2 separate regions of the Homo sapiens genome follow, and region 2 is linked to region 1. Evidence: promoter capture Hi-C in human tissues and cell types (Jung and others, 2019). All regions are on one chromosome and are shown on one strand. The core of a region is centred on a gene start or on the middle of the fragment in contact, and the rest is flanking DNA. Distances in the headings are between cores, read along the strand shown. Region 1 holds the start of QRICH1 (glutamine rich 1). Region 2 holds the start of UQCRC1 (ubiquinol-cytochrome c reductase core protein 1).

Region 1 (7,214 bases), core at 2,075-4,574:
TCCCTCTTTCAGCAAAGGAAGAAATTAATCTACCATTTCTTCATGCAGCCACATCAATTTAATAACAGAAATCACAATCTAATGTAATAACTAGGAAAAAATACAAAGGAAGCATTTAAGTGAAGTCTGAAGAGGACTTAAAACATCTGGAACAAAATGCAGTACAACAGAATAACAGAAAAGAACAGGTAATAGGCCAGGCGCGGTGGCTCACGCCTGTAATCCCAGCACTTTGGGAGGCCAAGGTGGGAGGATCCCGAGGTCAGGAGATTGAGACCATCCTGGCTAACAGAGTAAAACCCCGTTTCTACTAAAAAATACAAAAAATGAGACAGGCATGGTGGCGGGAGCCTGCAGTCCCAGCTACTCCGGAGGCTGAGGCAGGAGAATGGCGTGAACCCAGGAGGCAGAGGTTGCAGTGAGCCAAGATTGCACCACAGCACTCCAGCCCGGGCAACAGAGCGAGACTCCGTCTCAAAAAATAATAATAAAAATAAAAAGAAAAGAACAGGTATTCATGTAACACCTAATTCTAAGGCTAATTCAGAAATCAGAGACCCTTACAGATCAAGAGTGGCCATTTAAAAAGCAGACAAGAAAGAAATATGGCACATGAAGTATAAACCACAACTAATTAAACTAAAAGAAAGCATATCCAAAAAAAAAAGCATATCCAAAGTAAGGAAAGACATCCCTGATTCTGAAGCTGCCTTAAAGAAAGGCAGCCACATCCAGAGCCCCTGACTTTGGTTACTTTCCTAGAGCAATTCAAATTTACAAGAAAATTAAACCACTATTTGATCTTTAGTTTGAAATGGCAACATAAGCTGGAGAGAGGATGTGGAACTGCAGAGGTTCTCGAAGAGTTATAGGAAAAATTCATCAGAGAGGACCCGAAGGAAGACATCTAATAAGTAAATCTTAGTTGACAAACTTGGAGAAAAAGTATTTATAAACACCAATTTAAAAGGAAGATCTCAAGCTTAATAGTTAAAAATAAAGATAACCCAGAACAAGCAAGCCTAAAAAATTAATCAAAATTTGGTCGGGCGCGGTGGCTCACGCCTGTAATCCCAGCACTTTGGGAGGCCGAGGGCGGGTGGATCACGAGGTCAGGAGTTCGAGACCAGTCTGATCAACATGGTGAAACCCCGTCTATACTACAAATACAAAAAATTAGCCAGGTGTGGTGCTGCATGCCTGTAATCCCAGTTACTTGGGAAACTGAGGCAGGAGAATCGCTTCAACCAGGGAGGCGGAGGTTGCAGTGAGCCGAGATCACACCCCTGCACTCCAGCCTGGGTGACAGAGTGAGACTCCGTCTCAAAAAAAAAAAAAAAGTCAAAATTTTAAGTGTATCCTAGAAAAACTTTACAGCTTTTCTTTGAACCATTTAGGTCCGTTTAAAAGCTGAGCCTGCAAACGCTTAAATCTGCGGGTTCCACTGACTTATATCCTAAGAGGAGAAAACTGAGCAAGTAGCGAACTGTGGCTGAATTCAAAGATGCCGTTCTCCCACATCTTCATTTTACAGCACCTAATAGTTTCTGGAAGACAGCACCCAGAATTGACAGGATTTGTAATGCTTCAGTATTACCAGAAAAAAAACTGTGCACAGATACTTCCAGGATATGAACAATTTTAACTCACCAGTCACCATGTTGCATGTATTTCTGCTGCTTGTCCTGAGTTCTTAAGACTTCTAATATTCTGAAGAAGATAGAACAAAAAAGTTCCTTCCATCCTCAGCCTCTTTTTATTAATAATTTTAACTTTGTTCTTAAAAACAATACAGTACATTAGAAAGAACTACCCCACCATTATCAAATTTGATGGCTAATTTTACTTCCTCTTAGCTTCCTATTCCTTAAGCTTAATTGAGCAAGACTGTAAATCAAACTAGCAGATGTTTTGTATTAGAAAAAAGAGGTGCCTATTTCTCTAGAACAAACCTAGAACTTCCTTGACACCAAAACACAGCGGCAGGGTCAAAAAAAGAGCTGAAAAGGACTGAAATCCTACACCAAAAGTGACTTTTACAGTGATACACTATCAGATTTTAGTAATTTCTGCTGGGATTTCTGCAATTTCAAAAAAGGTAAAGCACTGATTCTCAGGTTGTTCCATTTTGTTTAAGGCCAACTTTTTGGCTGAGGCAAAGGTGGGCCTTTAATATAATAAAGTAAGCCCCTCCCACTTACGCAAAAGAAAAGCTGCGTTTAAGGATTTAAACTGGCATTTTAGAGCTCGGAGTTCACATGGGCCACATAAGCGAATTCCCTTCCGGAGCGCACAGAGGTGACGTGTATGAATTACGCTTATGGACGTATTAGTTTCTAATGAAAGATAAGCAGGTACCACTCAAGGGCCTTCTAATATTAACCTTCCCTGCCCGGCAGAAAGCCCAGTACAAGGTGAGGAAATCCGAAGGGGCTCACTGCCCTCTCAAACCAAGAGGGCTTGGTTTCCGAAGCAGAGAAACACCCTACCCAAGCACCCGCACCGTACTTGGGCCTCAAGTAACGGCATTCTTCGAGGAGAACGGGCAATCTCGCCCCCCTCACAGAGGAGCGGAACCGCAAGCCAGACAGCAAAGCTGGTTGGTTTCTCTCCAGGCCGAGGCCACGGATGCCCGGGAACGTCACCAGACCAGAAAGGACCCAATCCTCAACCTTCCCAGCGCAACGAGCCGCGGCCGGCCCTCTGCTCAGCAGAAGCCTCCTGCGCGCTCTCGAGGCAGCACCGCCACCCGATATCAGAGCGCGCGCCCCAAAACTGGGGGTCGTCACGGGCGCGCGCTCCAGAAAGCCGCGGTTGCCCACGGGCCACAGCTCCTAGAGCAGAGATATCCGGGCCGGGAACGCGCACGTCGGCGGCCACGCGCACCGAGAGCCGCACAGCGCGCGCGCGTAAAAACAGGCTCAGCCGCGCGCCCGCACCGGCGCGCCATCTCGCGCCGCGCCCACCCAAATCCCCGGGCCACCCCTCCCCCATCCACAGGGCGGGGTGCGCTAGCCCAGGAACGTTTTCGGCTCCGGAGCCGCCCCGAACTCTCCAGGGCCCAGCGGTAGTGGCCCGCCCGCCCCCGCCCGCCGTTGTGTGGGGTGGGCCCCCCGTCTCAGGCCTACAGCTTCGCCGCATCCCCACCCGCACTGGAGCCCTCACCCGGCGACGTCACTGCCGCCGCCGCCGCCGCCTCCGCTGCACCCGCCGGCCCCGCCGCACCGCCAGGGACCCTGGTTCTGCCGTCGTCGCTCCAAGACCGACAGGGTTTTCTCCTCACAGCTCCCTGGGCGCCATCTTACATTCAACCCTCACAGCCAATAGGAGCCGATTGCTCCTCTCGCGATAATCGGGGCGTCGGATCCCGCGAGATCTGGGACTGCCTACCGGCCAAAATTAAAGTGAACGCTTCAGCAGGGGAAGGTGGCCGCGCTTCTGGCCGCTAGAGCGGATAGTGGATCCTAGGGTATGGAGCGGCTCGCTCCGCCCATGGACGCCTCTCCATGTGGGGCGGAGCTAGGGCCGTGGCTTGGCCTAGTAGTGGAGTCTCGGAAGGCTAGGGCTCCAAGCTAGCTCTTTGGACCCACCTTCCGTCGCCCGCCAGAGCCTCCTTTGGTCGAGCACGCCCACGCGGGGCGGGGCCTGGCCAGGCTCGGCCTCTCGCTTAAGGTGGACCCCACAAACTTCTGTCCTGGGCCTGGCGTCCCCAGCCGTGCCCTGCCTGGGAAGCCTCTAGGTTGCTCACCTCCTGGAGGAGTCAGCATCTGGTACTCCCGCTGTCTGCTGCCATCTGAGTTCAGCCTTCCGCAGTTGGGTCCACCTTAAAGCGGGCCCCCGGGTAGCCTAGTGTTTGTATACAGGGAAAATGTGGAAGGCGTTAAAGCTGCAGGCACACTCGGGCCTCAGCAGCAGCCTACACTGCCCCCAGAGGGCTTCCAGCCTGCTGTAGACTCTTTTTGCCTCGGAGCTTTTGCCCTTGTTCCTCTTATCCTGGCAAACTCCCCGTAGTCTTTCGTGATTCCCTTCAGAAGTCACTTCGTTAGAGTAATGTTTTCTGAGGCCCAGGCTGGGTCAGGAACCTCTTCCAGTCTTGCACAGGCCCCAGGGAGACCGCTCCCATACAGTGCTTGGTCACCCATTTCCCCTCCCGTGAACTTGGAAGGCCACCACAGCACGTATGCCCCATCTCACTTTGCCTGGCACGTAGTAGGCACTCAAAAATTATATGCCGAATGGGCCGGGCACGGTGGCTGAAGTCTGTAATCCCAACACTTTGGGAGACCGAGGCGGGTGAATCACCTGAGGTCAGGAGTTTGAGACCAGCCTGGCCAACATGGTGAACCCCGTCTCTACTAAAAATACAAAATTAGCCGAGTGTGGTGGTGCATGCCTGTGATCCCAGCTACTTAAGAGGCTGAGGCAGGAAAACTGCTTGAACCTGGGAGGCAGAGGTTGCAGTGAGCTGAGATCACACCATTGCACTGCAGCTTGGGGGACAAGAGTGAGACTCCGTCTCAAAAATAAAAAAGAATTATAGGCTGATTGGGCGCAGTGGCTCACGCCTGCAATCCCAGCACTTTGGGAGGCCGAGGCGGGCAGATCACCTGGGGTCAGGAGTTCCAGACCAGTCTGGCCAATTTGGCAAAACCCCGTCTCTACTGAAATTACAAAAATTATTCAGGAGTGGTGGCGCCCGCCTGTAATCCCAGCTACTTGGGAGGCTGAGGCACGAGAATCGCTTGAACCCGGGAGGCAGAGGTTGCAGTGAGCCAAGATTGAGCCACTGCACTCCAGCCTGGGCTAGAGTGGAACTCCGTATCAAAAAAAAAAAAAAAAAATTATATGCTGAATGATCAGACTGGGAGCTAGGCCTCTCCACACCAGCAGAAACAAACCTTTTAGATCCCTCTGGCACAGGGGTCCTAACCATGGACAAACACCCCAGGGCCCTCCATTCTCTCAGACCAGGTGCGGAGGGTATGAATCCTACCCAGGCCCCTGCCTTTAAGCACCAAAAAGTGCACCGGTGCTTTCAAAGCTGTCAGTACCACTCTGTTCTGGGAAAGTCCATTCTCACAGACAAAATGTGCAAAAGGCACATCTCCATCCCCCAATCATACCACCACCACCAGCATGTCTTCAGGGCCTTCAGATGCTAGAAGTGCAGAGATAACACACAGACTCTAGGAGAATTTAGCTGTTCTTTATTGACATGGAATTTGGGGTGGCGAGGGTAGCCACACCCTCCAGGAGGATGAGGTAGGTTCAGTGCTTCCAGCTCACACCTTTCCTGGGTCTTCCTTCAGTGTGACAGTTCGGTTAAAGACAAGCTGGAGGGCAGAGGGAAAAGGATGACCACCAACCCAGAACAAGGCCAGGGAGGCCTGGGCAGGTTTCACCACAGACACCTCCCCCTAACATCCTTCTTAAGCCAAAGAAGCCGAGGGACTAAGGGTCAGGAGGCCCGGGTCCTCAATAACTTTGTGACTTTGGGTAAGGGACTGAATGGGGCTCTAGGCTATAGTATTATATGGACCATAACAACCACCGTGGGGGTCCAGGGTATAGTTTTATATGGATTATAACAACCACCATGTTTGCCCCCTACTTTAAGGAGTAAGAAAGACAGGGTGGGCTGGTGCAGTGGCTCACGCCTGTAATCTCAGCACTTTGGGAGGCTGAGACAGGCAGATAATCTGAGGTCAGGAGTTCAAGACCAGCCTGGCCAACATGGCAAAACCCCGTCTCTACTAAAAATACAAAAATTAGGCCAGGCGCAGTGGCTCACGCCTGTAATCCCAGCACTCTGGGAGGCCGAGGCAGGCGGATCATGAGATCAGGAGATCGAGACCATCCTGGCTAACACGGTGAAACCCCGTCTCTACTAAAAAATAGAAAAAATTAGCTGGGAGTGGTGGCGGGCGCCTGTAGTCCCAGCTATTTGGGAGGCTGAGGCGGGAGAATGGCGTGAACCCGGGAGGCAGAGCTTGCAGTGAGCCGAGATTGTGCCACTGCACTCCAGCCTGGGCGACATGTGAGACTCCGTCTCAAAAAAAAAAAAAAAAAAAAAAAAAAAAAAAAAAAAATTTGCCGGGCGTGGTAGCATGTGCCTGTAATCCCAGCTACTTGGAAGGCTGAGGCAGGAGAATGGCTTGAGCCTGGGAGGCGGAGGTTGCAGTGGGCCGAGATCGTGCCACTGTACTCCAGCCTGGGCAACAGGGCGAGATACTGTTTCAAAAAAAGAAAAAAAAAAAAAAAAGGATGGCAGGGTGGCTGGGCACAGTGGCTCATGCCTATAATCCCAGCACTCTAGGAGGCTGAGACAGGAGGACTGCTTGAAGCCAGTAATTCAAGACCAACCTGGGCAACATAGTGAGAACTTGCCTCTACAAAAAGTTTTAAAATTAGCCAGGCATGGTAGTGTGCACATGTAGTCTCAGCTAAGGCAGGAGAATAGCTTGAGCCCAGTAGTTTGAGGCCACAGTGAGCTATGATTGCACCACTTCACACCACCCTGGGCAAGAGTAAGACCCCGTCTCTAAAATAAATAAAAAGAAAGGTTATTAGCTGCCTTAACGAAAGATATTAAAAATAATATCTTTCGGGTGTTTCACCATGTTGGCCAGGGTGGTCTCGAACTCCTGACCTCTGGTGGTAAGCCCTGACCTCTGGTGATCAGCCTGCCTTGGCCTCCCAAAGTGCTGGGATTACAAGTGTGAGCCACCATGCCCTGCCTCAAAAAATAATAATTAAAAAAAAAAAAGAGGTCGGGTGCAGTGGCTCATGACTGTGATCCCAGCACTTTGGGAGGCCGAGGCGGGCAGATCATGAAGTCAGGAATTCGAGACCATCCTGGCCAACATGGTGAAACCCCATCTCTACTAAAAATACAAAAAATTAGCCGGGTGTGGTGGCAGGCGCCTGTAATCCCAGCTACTCGGGAGGCTGAGGCAGGAGAATCACTTGAACCTGGGAGGCAGAGGTTGCAGTGAGCCGAGATGGTGCCATTGCACTCCAGCCCCGGGCGACAGTGCAAGACTGTCTCAAAAAAAAAGGCAGCCTTCATACAAAATTTTGTGCCTGGAGTTATCCTCAGTGCCAGTTTCCTCACTAGTAGAATATGAATACCAACTCCCTCAGGTGGTGAGGATTAACTAAGGGAATGTATGCAGAGCACTTGGCACAATGAACGGCAGCCACTGTCACTGCTG
Region 2 (7,154 bases), core at 258-2,757, 480 kb before region 1:
ATCATCCACCCCTTCATCCTTCCAAGTCTTCACTGTCCATCATTCCACTCTCTACATCTGTATGTACGTATTTTTTAGCTCCCACTGATAAGTGAGAACATGTGATATTTGCTTTCCTAAGAGATGTCAATGCATATACCATATATCACACAATCTTAGATGAACATGTATTTCACATCTAACATCTTGGAATGCAAGAGGCATTTTACAATCTATAGTATCCTTTGATTAAAATTGGCAAGATTCTTGAGATTCTTTCTCTGGCACTGGAGCACAGACAGCTCCTTACAATCTAGCACATTTTAGAGTTCATGTAATATAGCATTCTTTACTATAACAAGTGACATATAACAAGGAAGTTGCAGGCCACCTTTTCCTATGCTTAGTAACAATTTAAATCGCAGGACATTGTTTCTGGAAAACTAAAAGGATGTGTCAATAAAAACATCTGGCCCTGGGGCTGGGGGCTGAAAGGAGGAGGAGATAATTATTTCTTGGGAATCTTCTCACCTATTCATATATCTATCTGTGACTCAAGATTTCTTGTGTCAATTTAGAGAATTTGTATTTTTTGGAAAATCACACATTTCATTGTACTGTTAAAATGCATTTGCTTCCTAAAATGTATTTCTGGTCTAGCCTGGAGATTATGACCTTGGGCAGTGAGGCTGACAGACCTGGACCCCTGCAAGTCACCTAAGGTGTCTGAATCCCATTTTCCGCATTATAAGAGGAGACATGATCACTTCCCTTATATGGGCTCCTTAACAAAAGGCTGGAAAAGAATTTGGCCGCCTACTTAACGGGCATTATATGCTAAATAATGTTGGCTTATAGTGAAGATTGTCCCGTGAAGCCAAGGCGTGGCTAGGGTAGGGAATGGGGCCATTCTCGGGGTGAGTGGTCCTGGGTCCGAACCCAAACCACAAACGGGAAGACTCGAGCCCAAGGTCACACCCCAACCAGGGAAAAGACGGCAGGCCCAACCTGGAGGCCCTCTCCCCAAAAGCGTCCCCAACTCACCGTGCAAGTGGGCTGAGAGGACTGCTCGGAGGCCACACGCAGGCCGTTGTCCAGCAGGCTAACCTGCGTCTCCGGCACGAACTGGAGCGCCTGAGCGAAGGTTGCCGTACTCCGCAAGGCTGGCGTCCGCAGCAGGGCCGGCTGTGGAAGGGAACAGCCGCGAGTGAGGACTCGGTCAGGGGATCGCTCCCCACCTCCCAGGTCCTCAGGAGGACCCCCGAACCCCGCCCCTAGGCAAGCGGCGAGATACCTTTCCCCGCCCTCCGCCGTGACCTTCCCACGGCCCTGACCCCGCGTCCTCCCCACCTCGACCTGCCACTGCTAACAGCCCACACCTGTCCGCTTCCCGAAGCCCTGTCCCGAAGCCCCGCGCTCTCGCCACCACCTCACCGAGCGGCGGGCGCGCAATAGCACTTGTGCCCCGGCGGTAGCGGCCCGACAGACCACGGACGCCGCCATCTTCCAGCTGCAGTCGGCCCTGTTGCGCCGCGCAAGCGTAGACTGGGCGCGTTGGCGGTCGCGGCGCAGGCGCAGTACCGTACAGTTGGTGCTCGGCCGCCTCCTGGCGGGAACCGGGACAGTCTATTGTGCTGGCCTGGCTTTGGCTGACTGGCTCTGACCGCGCTGCCGCCAGTCCCTGCGCACATCAGTCCACCTGCCGTCCATCAGCCCGAGCAGGTCCGCCCGCCGTGCAGTCCATCTCCCCATTCCACGCGTGGAAGTCAGAGTGCATTATGTTTCTCACCAGCCGCGCTGCGTACTGAGGTCTGGCGGGCGGGGAGTTGCAGCCACAGCGTGTCCGCAGGTTCGAGCCCAGGGCTAAAGTACCAGCGTGGAAACTTACCTGGGACCACAAGTTGGTGCTGAAAGTCAGTATTTTTTTCTCTTTATTTATTTTTTATTTTCTGAGACAGGGTCTCGCTCTGTCGCCCAGGCTGGAGTGCAATGGCGCGATCTCGGCTCACTGCAACCTCCGCCTCCCGGCTTCAAGCGATTCTCCTGCCTCAGCCTCCCGAGTAGCTGGGATTATGCCCGGTAATTTTTGTTTCTTTAGAAGAGACAAGGTTTCTCCATGTTGGCCAGTTTTGCGCCCTGCCAGTTTTCTCTTTAAAAGAACTAAGTACAGGCCGGGAGCGGTGGCTCACTCCTGTAATCCCAACACTTTGGGAGGCCGAGGCAGGTGGATCACTTGAGGCGAGGAGTCCAAGACCAGCCTGGCCAACATGGTGAAACCTTTCCTTTTCTGTAAGAGGAAAAAGAATTCTGGCTGGGTGCAGTGGCTCATGCCTGTAATCCCAGCACTTTGGAAGGCCGAGGTGGGCGGATCACCTGAGGTCGGGAATTTGAGACCAGCCTGACCGACATGGAGAAACCCCGTCTCTACTAAAAATACAAAAGTAGACGGGCGTGGTGGCGCATGCCTGTAATCCTAGCTACTCCAGAGGCTGAGGCAGGAGAATCACTTGAACCCGGGAGGCGGAGGTTGCGGTGAGCCGAGATCGCGCCATTTCCAGCCTGGGCAACAAGAGCGAAACTCCGTCTCAAAAAAAAAAAAAAAAAAAAAAAAAGACTTCTAAGGTATGCTTTGTTATGTCAACTAAAGAAAAAAAAAAACAAGCTTTTAAATATTTAAAGTTAGTTCTATTCAGAAGTCTTACCAAGAATTGCAACCCGGGAGAGCCTTTCAGGGAGTTTCTGCTAGACTGCTCCAAAGCAGTGTTTCCGACAGTTTATACACTGGTGGTGGCGGCTCTCCATGTGCTCAGAAATTACATCAAATGTGCTCAGAAGTTACATTAGAGCATAAATCTCATCAAGGTTTGGGTGCAAGAGTACATCTGTTTATAGGTCACAGAAGCATAATCATTAATCCTGTCAGACAGTATCTTAAGTACAGGAAGAGGCAAGGGCTAGGATCATTGCATTTTTTACCATGTTGGCCAGGCTGATATCAAACTCCTGGCCTCAAGCAATCCACCCACCTCAGCCTCCCAAAGTGCTAGGATTACAGGGGTGAGCCACCACACCTTACCCAAAAACTACTCTTATACTTAAAATAAAACTATCTTTATAAAAATCATGCCAGATGCCATGACCACAGGCTCTCACACCACACCCAGCTAATTTTTTTTTATTTTTTGTGGAGACGGGGGTCTCATTATGTTGCCCAGGCTGATCTTAAACTCCTGAGCTCAAGTGATCCTCCTACCTCAGCCTCCCAAAGTGCTGGGATTACAGTCATGAGCCACCGTGCCAGGCTGACTTTATTTCTTATAAAGGGTTACAACCTGCAGGCTGGGAGGTGGGCTTCTGGTCAAAACCAGAGACAGACCCTTAAAAAGAGGCAGGAGCTTTATGTCGAATGGCTTGGCTAAACATACATATTCGGCCGGGCACGGTGGCTCACACCTGTAATCCCAAACTTTGGGAGGCCGAGGTGGGCGGATCACAAGGTCAGGAGATTGAGACCATCCTGGCTAACATGGTGAAACCCCGTCTCTACTAAAAATACAAAAAATCTGCCAGGCATGATGGCATGTGCCTATAATCCCAGCTACTCGGGAAGCTGAGGCAGAAGAATCGCTTGAACCTGGGAGGCGGAGGTTGCAGTGAGCCGAGATCGCGCCACTGCACTCCAGCCTGGGTGACAGAGCGAGACTCTGTCTCAAAAAAGAAAAAACAAAAACAAAAAATACCATATTCAACAGGTTACAGGAAGAGCTATAGATACTCATGAAGGGGGTCCTAATGCAAGTATACTGAATAAACATGTGTGTTGTATATGACCCATGTTCACTTTGGGGTGGAGACTTAACATTGAAATACATTACAGGCCGGGTGCGGTGGCTCACGCCTATAATCTCAGCACTTTGGGAAGCCGAGGTGGGTGGCTCACGAGGTCAGAAGATCAAGACCATCCTGGCCAACACAGTAAAACCCCGTCTCTACTAAAAATACAAAAATTAGCTGGGCGTGGTGGCGTATGCCTGTAGTCCCAGCTACTCAGGAGGGTGAGGAAGGAGAATCACTTGAAACCGGGAAGCGGAGGTTGCAGTGAGCCAAGATCGCACCACTGCACTCCAGCCTGGGCTACAGAGGGAGACTCCATCTCAAAAAAAAAAAAAAAAAAGAAAAGAAATACAATTAGCACCATATGTCAAAATGAAGGATACAAAAGCACTCAGTGCACAGGTTCCATAAACCAACTGAAGCCAGTCCCTGGTCAGTGGTCTCTTATTAGGAAAAAGTCACCAAAATCCATCTCTTGTGCAATCAAAGCTATAGTTATGGCTTGTGGGGTCAGTGTCTGGTGATGGATGAACTGCAATTGTTTCTATATTGCTTATCTCAAGGCCAGTGCTTGTTTAGCTGCTGGAGAAAAAGAAAAACCTTGCAGCAGTTAGAACATAGTTTATTCTTTGGTGAACGGCTTAACTCTTGCCTGGCATGGCCTTAATGTCTTGTTTATACTTTGGTATCTTATTGCTACAAAGGGTTCATTCTCTCAGTCTTATGATCTCTATTTTTTTCTTTCTTTTTTGAGACAGAGTCTCATTCTGTCACCCAGGCTGGAGTGCAGTGGCAGGATCTCTGCTCACTGCAACCTCCATCTCCCAGGTTCAAGCAATTCTCCTGCCTCGGCCTCCCGAGTAGCTGGAACTGCAGGCACATGCCAACATCGCTAATTTTTGACAGAGTCTCATTCTGTCACCCAGGCTGAAGTGCAGTGGCGTGATCTTGGCTCACTGCAACCTCAGCCTCCTGGATTCAAGCAATTCTCCTGCCTCAGCCTTCCAAGTAGCTGGGACGCCACACGCCACCATGCCCTGGCTCAAGTGATCCTTCTACCTCAGGCTCCTGAGTAGCTGGGAACACAGGTGCACACCATCATACCCAGCTAACTTTTATATTTTTTGTAGAGACAGGATTTCACTATGTGGCCCAGGCTGGTCTCAAACTCCAGGCTCAAGTGAGCCTCCTGCCTTGGCCTCCCAAAGTGCTGGGACTACAGATGTGAGCCACCGCCCCTGGACGTGATCTCTTTTTTTTTTTTTTTTGAGATGGAGTCTCGCTCTGTTGCCAGGCTGGAGTGCAGTGGCATGATCTTGGCTCACTGCAACATCCGCCTCCTGGGTTCAAGCGATTCTCCTGCCTCAGGCTCCCAAGTAGCTGGGACTAAGGCATGTGCCACCACACCCAGCTAATTTTTGTAGTTTTAGTAGAGATGGGATTTCACCATGTTGGCCAGGATGGTCTCGATCTCTTGACCTCGTGATCTGCCAAAGTGCTGGGATTACAGGCATGAGCTACCACGCCCGACCTTTTTTATTTTTGAGACCGAGTTTCGCTCTTGTTGCCCAGGTTGGAGTGCAATGGCGCAATCTTATCAGCAACCTCTGCCTCCCGGGTTCAAGCGATGCTCATGCCTCAGTCTCCCGAGTAGCTGGGACTACAGGCATGTGCCATCACGCCTAGCTAATTTTGTATTTTTAGTAGAGATGGGGTTTCTCCATGTTAGTCAGGCTGGTCTCAAACTCCCAACCTCAGGTGATCCACCCACCTTGGCCTCCCAAAGTGCTGGGATTACAGGTGTGAGCCACCGCACCCGGCCTGCCTGCTTCCTTTCCTTCCTTCCTTCCTTCCCTCCCTCCTTCCTTTCCTTCCTTCCTTCCTCCCTTCCTTTCTCTCTCTTTCTTTTTTTTTTTTGAGAGGGTCTGGCTTTCTGTCACTCAGGCTGGAATGCAGTGGTGTGATCATGGCTCACTGCAGCCTCAACCTTCCAGCTCAAGCCATCTTCCCACTCCAGCCTCCTGAGTAGCTGGAACTATATAGGCATGCACCATCACACCCAGCTAATTTTTAAAAACATTTTTCTAGAGATGGGGTCTCACTATATTCCCCAGTCTGGTCTTGAACTCCTAGGCTCAAGTGATCCTCCCACCTCAGCCTCCCAAATGAAATATTCCTAAACCCAGTCACCTAGCCTCCCTACCTATACCCACTGCTACCCTGGGCTAAGAAGGGAAGGCCATTGAAGTAGGAGACAACTAGGAAGTCTGATGCTGGTTGGGAACGATGCGTTTCAAGGGGTTGGTCAAAACAGGAAATATTACTAAAAGGTTAAGTGCAAGCAGTGATCATTGCAATAATTTTGCAACAGTGTTTGGTGACTCATTGATTCTCTGGAATTTACTTGGTATATAGAGTGAGGTAAGGTCAAAATATCCTCTCTCCCCCTAAAAGGCAAACTAAATTTTGTAACACCGTTTCTTGATGAGGCCCTGTTTCCCTACCCATCTCTGTTGTTCCCTCTATCATCCCATAGATTCTCAAACTTGTACCAGGTCCATGCAGGCTGTGTTCTGTAGGGAGGGCTCTGGCACTCAACTTACCCTTCTTACTCTGTTTGATACATTCACCTATTTATTCTTCTAGATGTTTCTTTTTATTTTTTAAATTTACTTTTAATTTTTTTAAATAGAGATGGGATTTTGCCACATTACCCAGCTTGGTCTCGAACTCCTGGGCTCAAGTGATTCTCCTGCCTTGGTCTCACAAAGTGCTGGGATTACAGGCATGAGCCACTGCACGCAGCTTTTTTTTTTTTTTTTTTTTTGAGACGGAGTTTGCTCTTGTTGCTCAGGTTGGATGGAGTGCAGTGGTGTGATCTAGGCTCACTGCAACCTCCACCTCCTGGTTCAAGCAAGTCTCATGCCTCAGCCTCCCAAGTAGCTGGGATTACAGGGGCCTGTCTCCATGCACAGATAGTTTTTGTATTTTTAGTAGAGACAAGGTTTCACCATCTTGACCAGGCTGGTCTCGAACTCCTGACCTCAGGTGATCCGCCCACCTCAGCCTCCCAAAGTCCTGGGATTACAGGCGTGAGCCACCACGCCTGCCTGTTCTATTCATTATTGAAAGTGGGGGGTTGAAATATGAACTATAATTGTAGAGCTGACTACTTTCAATTCTGATAATTTTTGTTTCATTATTTTTGGGGCTCCGTTAGGCACATAAATGTTTCTAATTGTCATATTGCCTTGTTTTGAAACTTTTATTAGGTGGGTGGATCACCTCAGGTCAGGAGTTCAAGACCAGCCTGACCAACATGGATAAACCCCGTCTCTACT

Evidence for each region. The method cuts DNA at HindIII sites, captures the fragments that hold promoters and counts their contacts. A contact is called where the count stands out against the background at its distance.
Region 2: a contact is called between the fragment with the promoter of UQCRC1 here and the fragment with the promoter of QRICH1 in region 1, in 1 of the 25 tissues and cell types used here (liver).

Annotation. Positions count from the first base shown.
Region 1 is chr3:49,090,747-49,097,960 of GRCh38, forward strand. It overlaps QRICH1 (glutamine rich 1), which reads right to left and starts at 3,325. Exons shown (of 10, transcript NM_198880.3): 1 at 3,166-3,325. QARS1 (glutaminyl-tRNA synthetase 1) reads right to left here. Exons shown (of 24, transcript NM_005051.3): 24 at 5,186-5,333. The coding sequence ends at 5,283. RefSeq lists enhancers at 2,449-2,961, 3,330-3,449, 3,560-3,899 and a silencer at 2,960-3,209. The HindIII fragment of the contact is 8,300 bases long and covers 1,428-7,214 here.
Region 2 is chr3:48,608,139-48,615,292 of GRCh38, forward strand. UQCRC1 (ubiquinol-cytochrome c reductase core protein 1) reads right to left here and starts at 1,508. Exons shown (of 13, transcript NM_003365.3): 1 at 1,414-1,508; 2 at 1,024-1,164. The coding sequence starts at 1,482. RefSeq lists a silencer at 1,129-1,228 and enhancers at 1,399-1,498, 1,578-2,092, 1,789-1,898, 5,608-6,107. The HindIII fragment of the contact is 22,312 bases long and covers 1-7,154 here.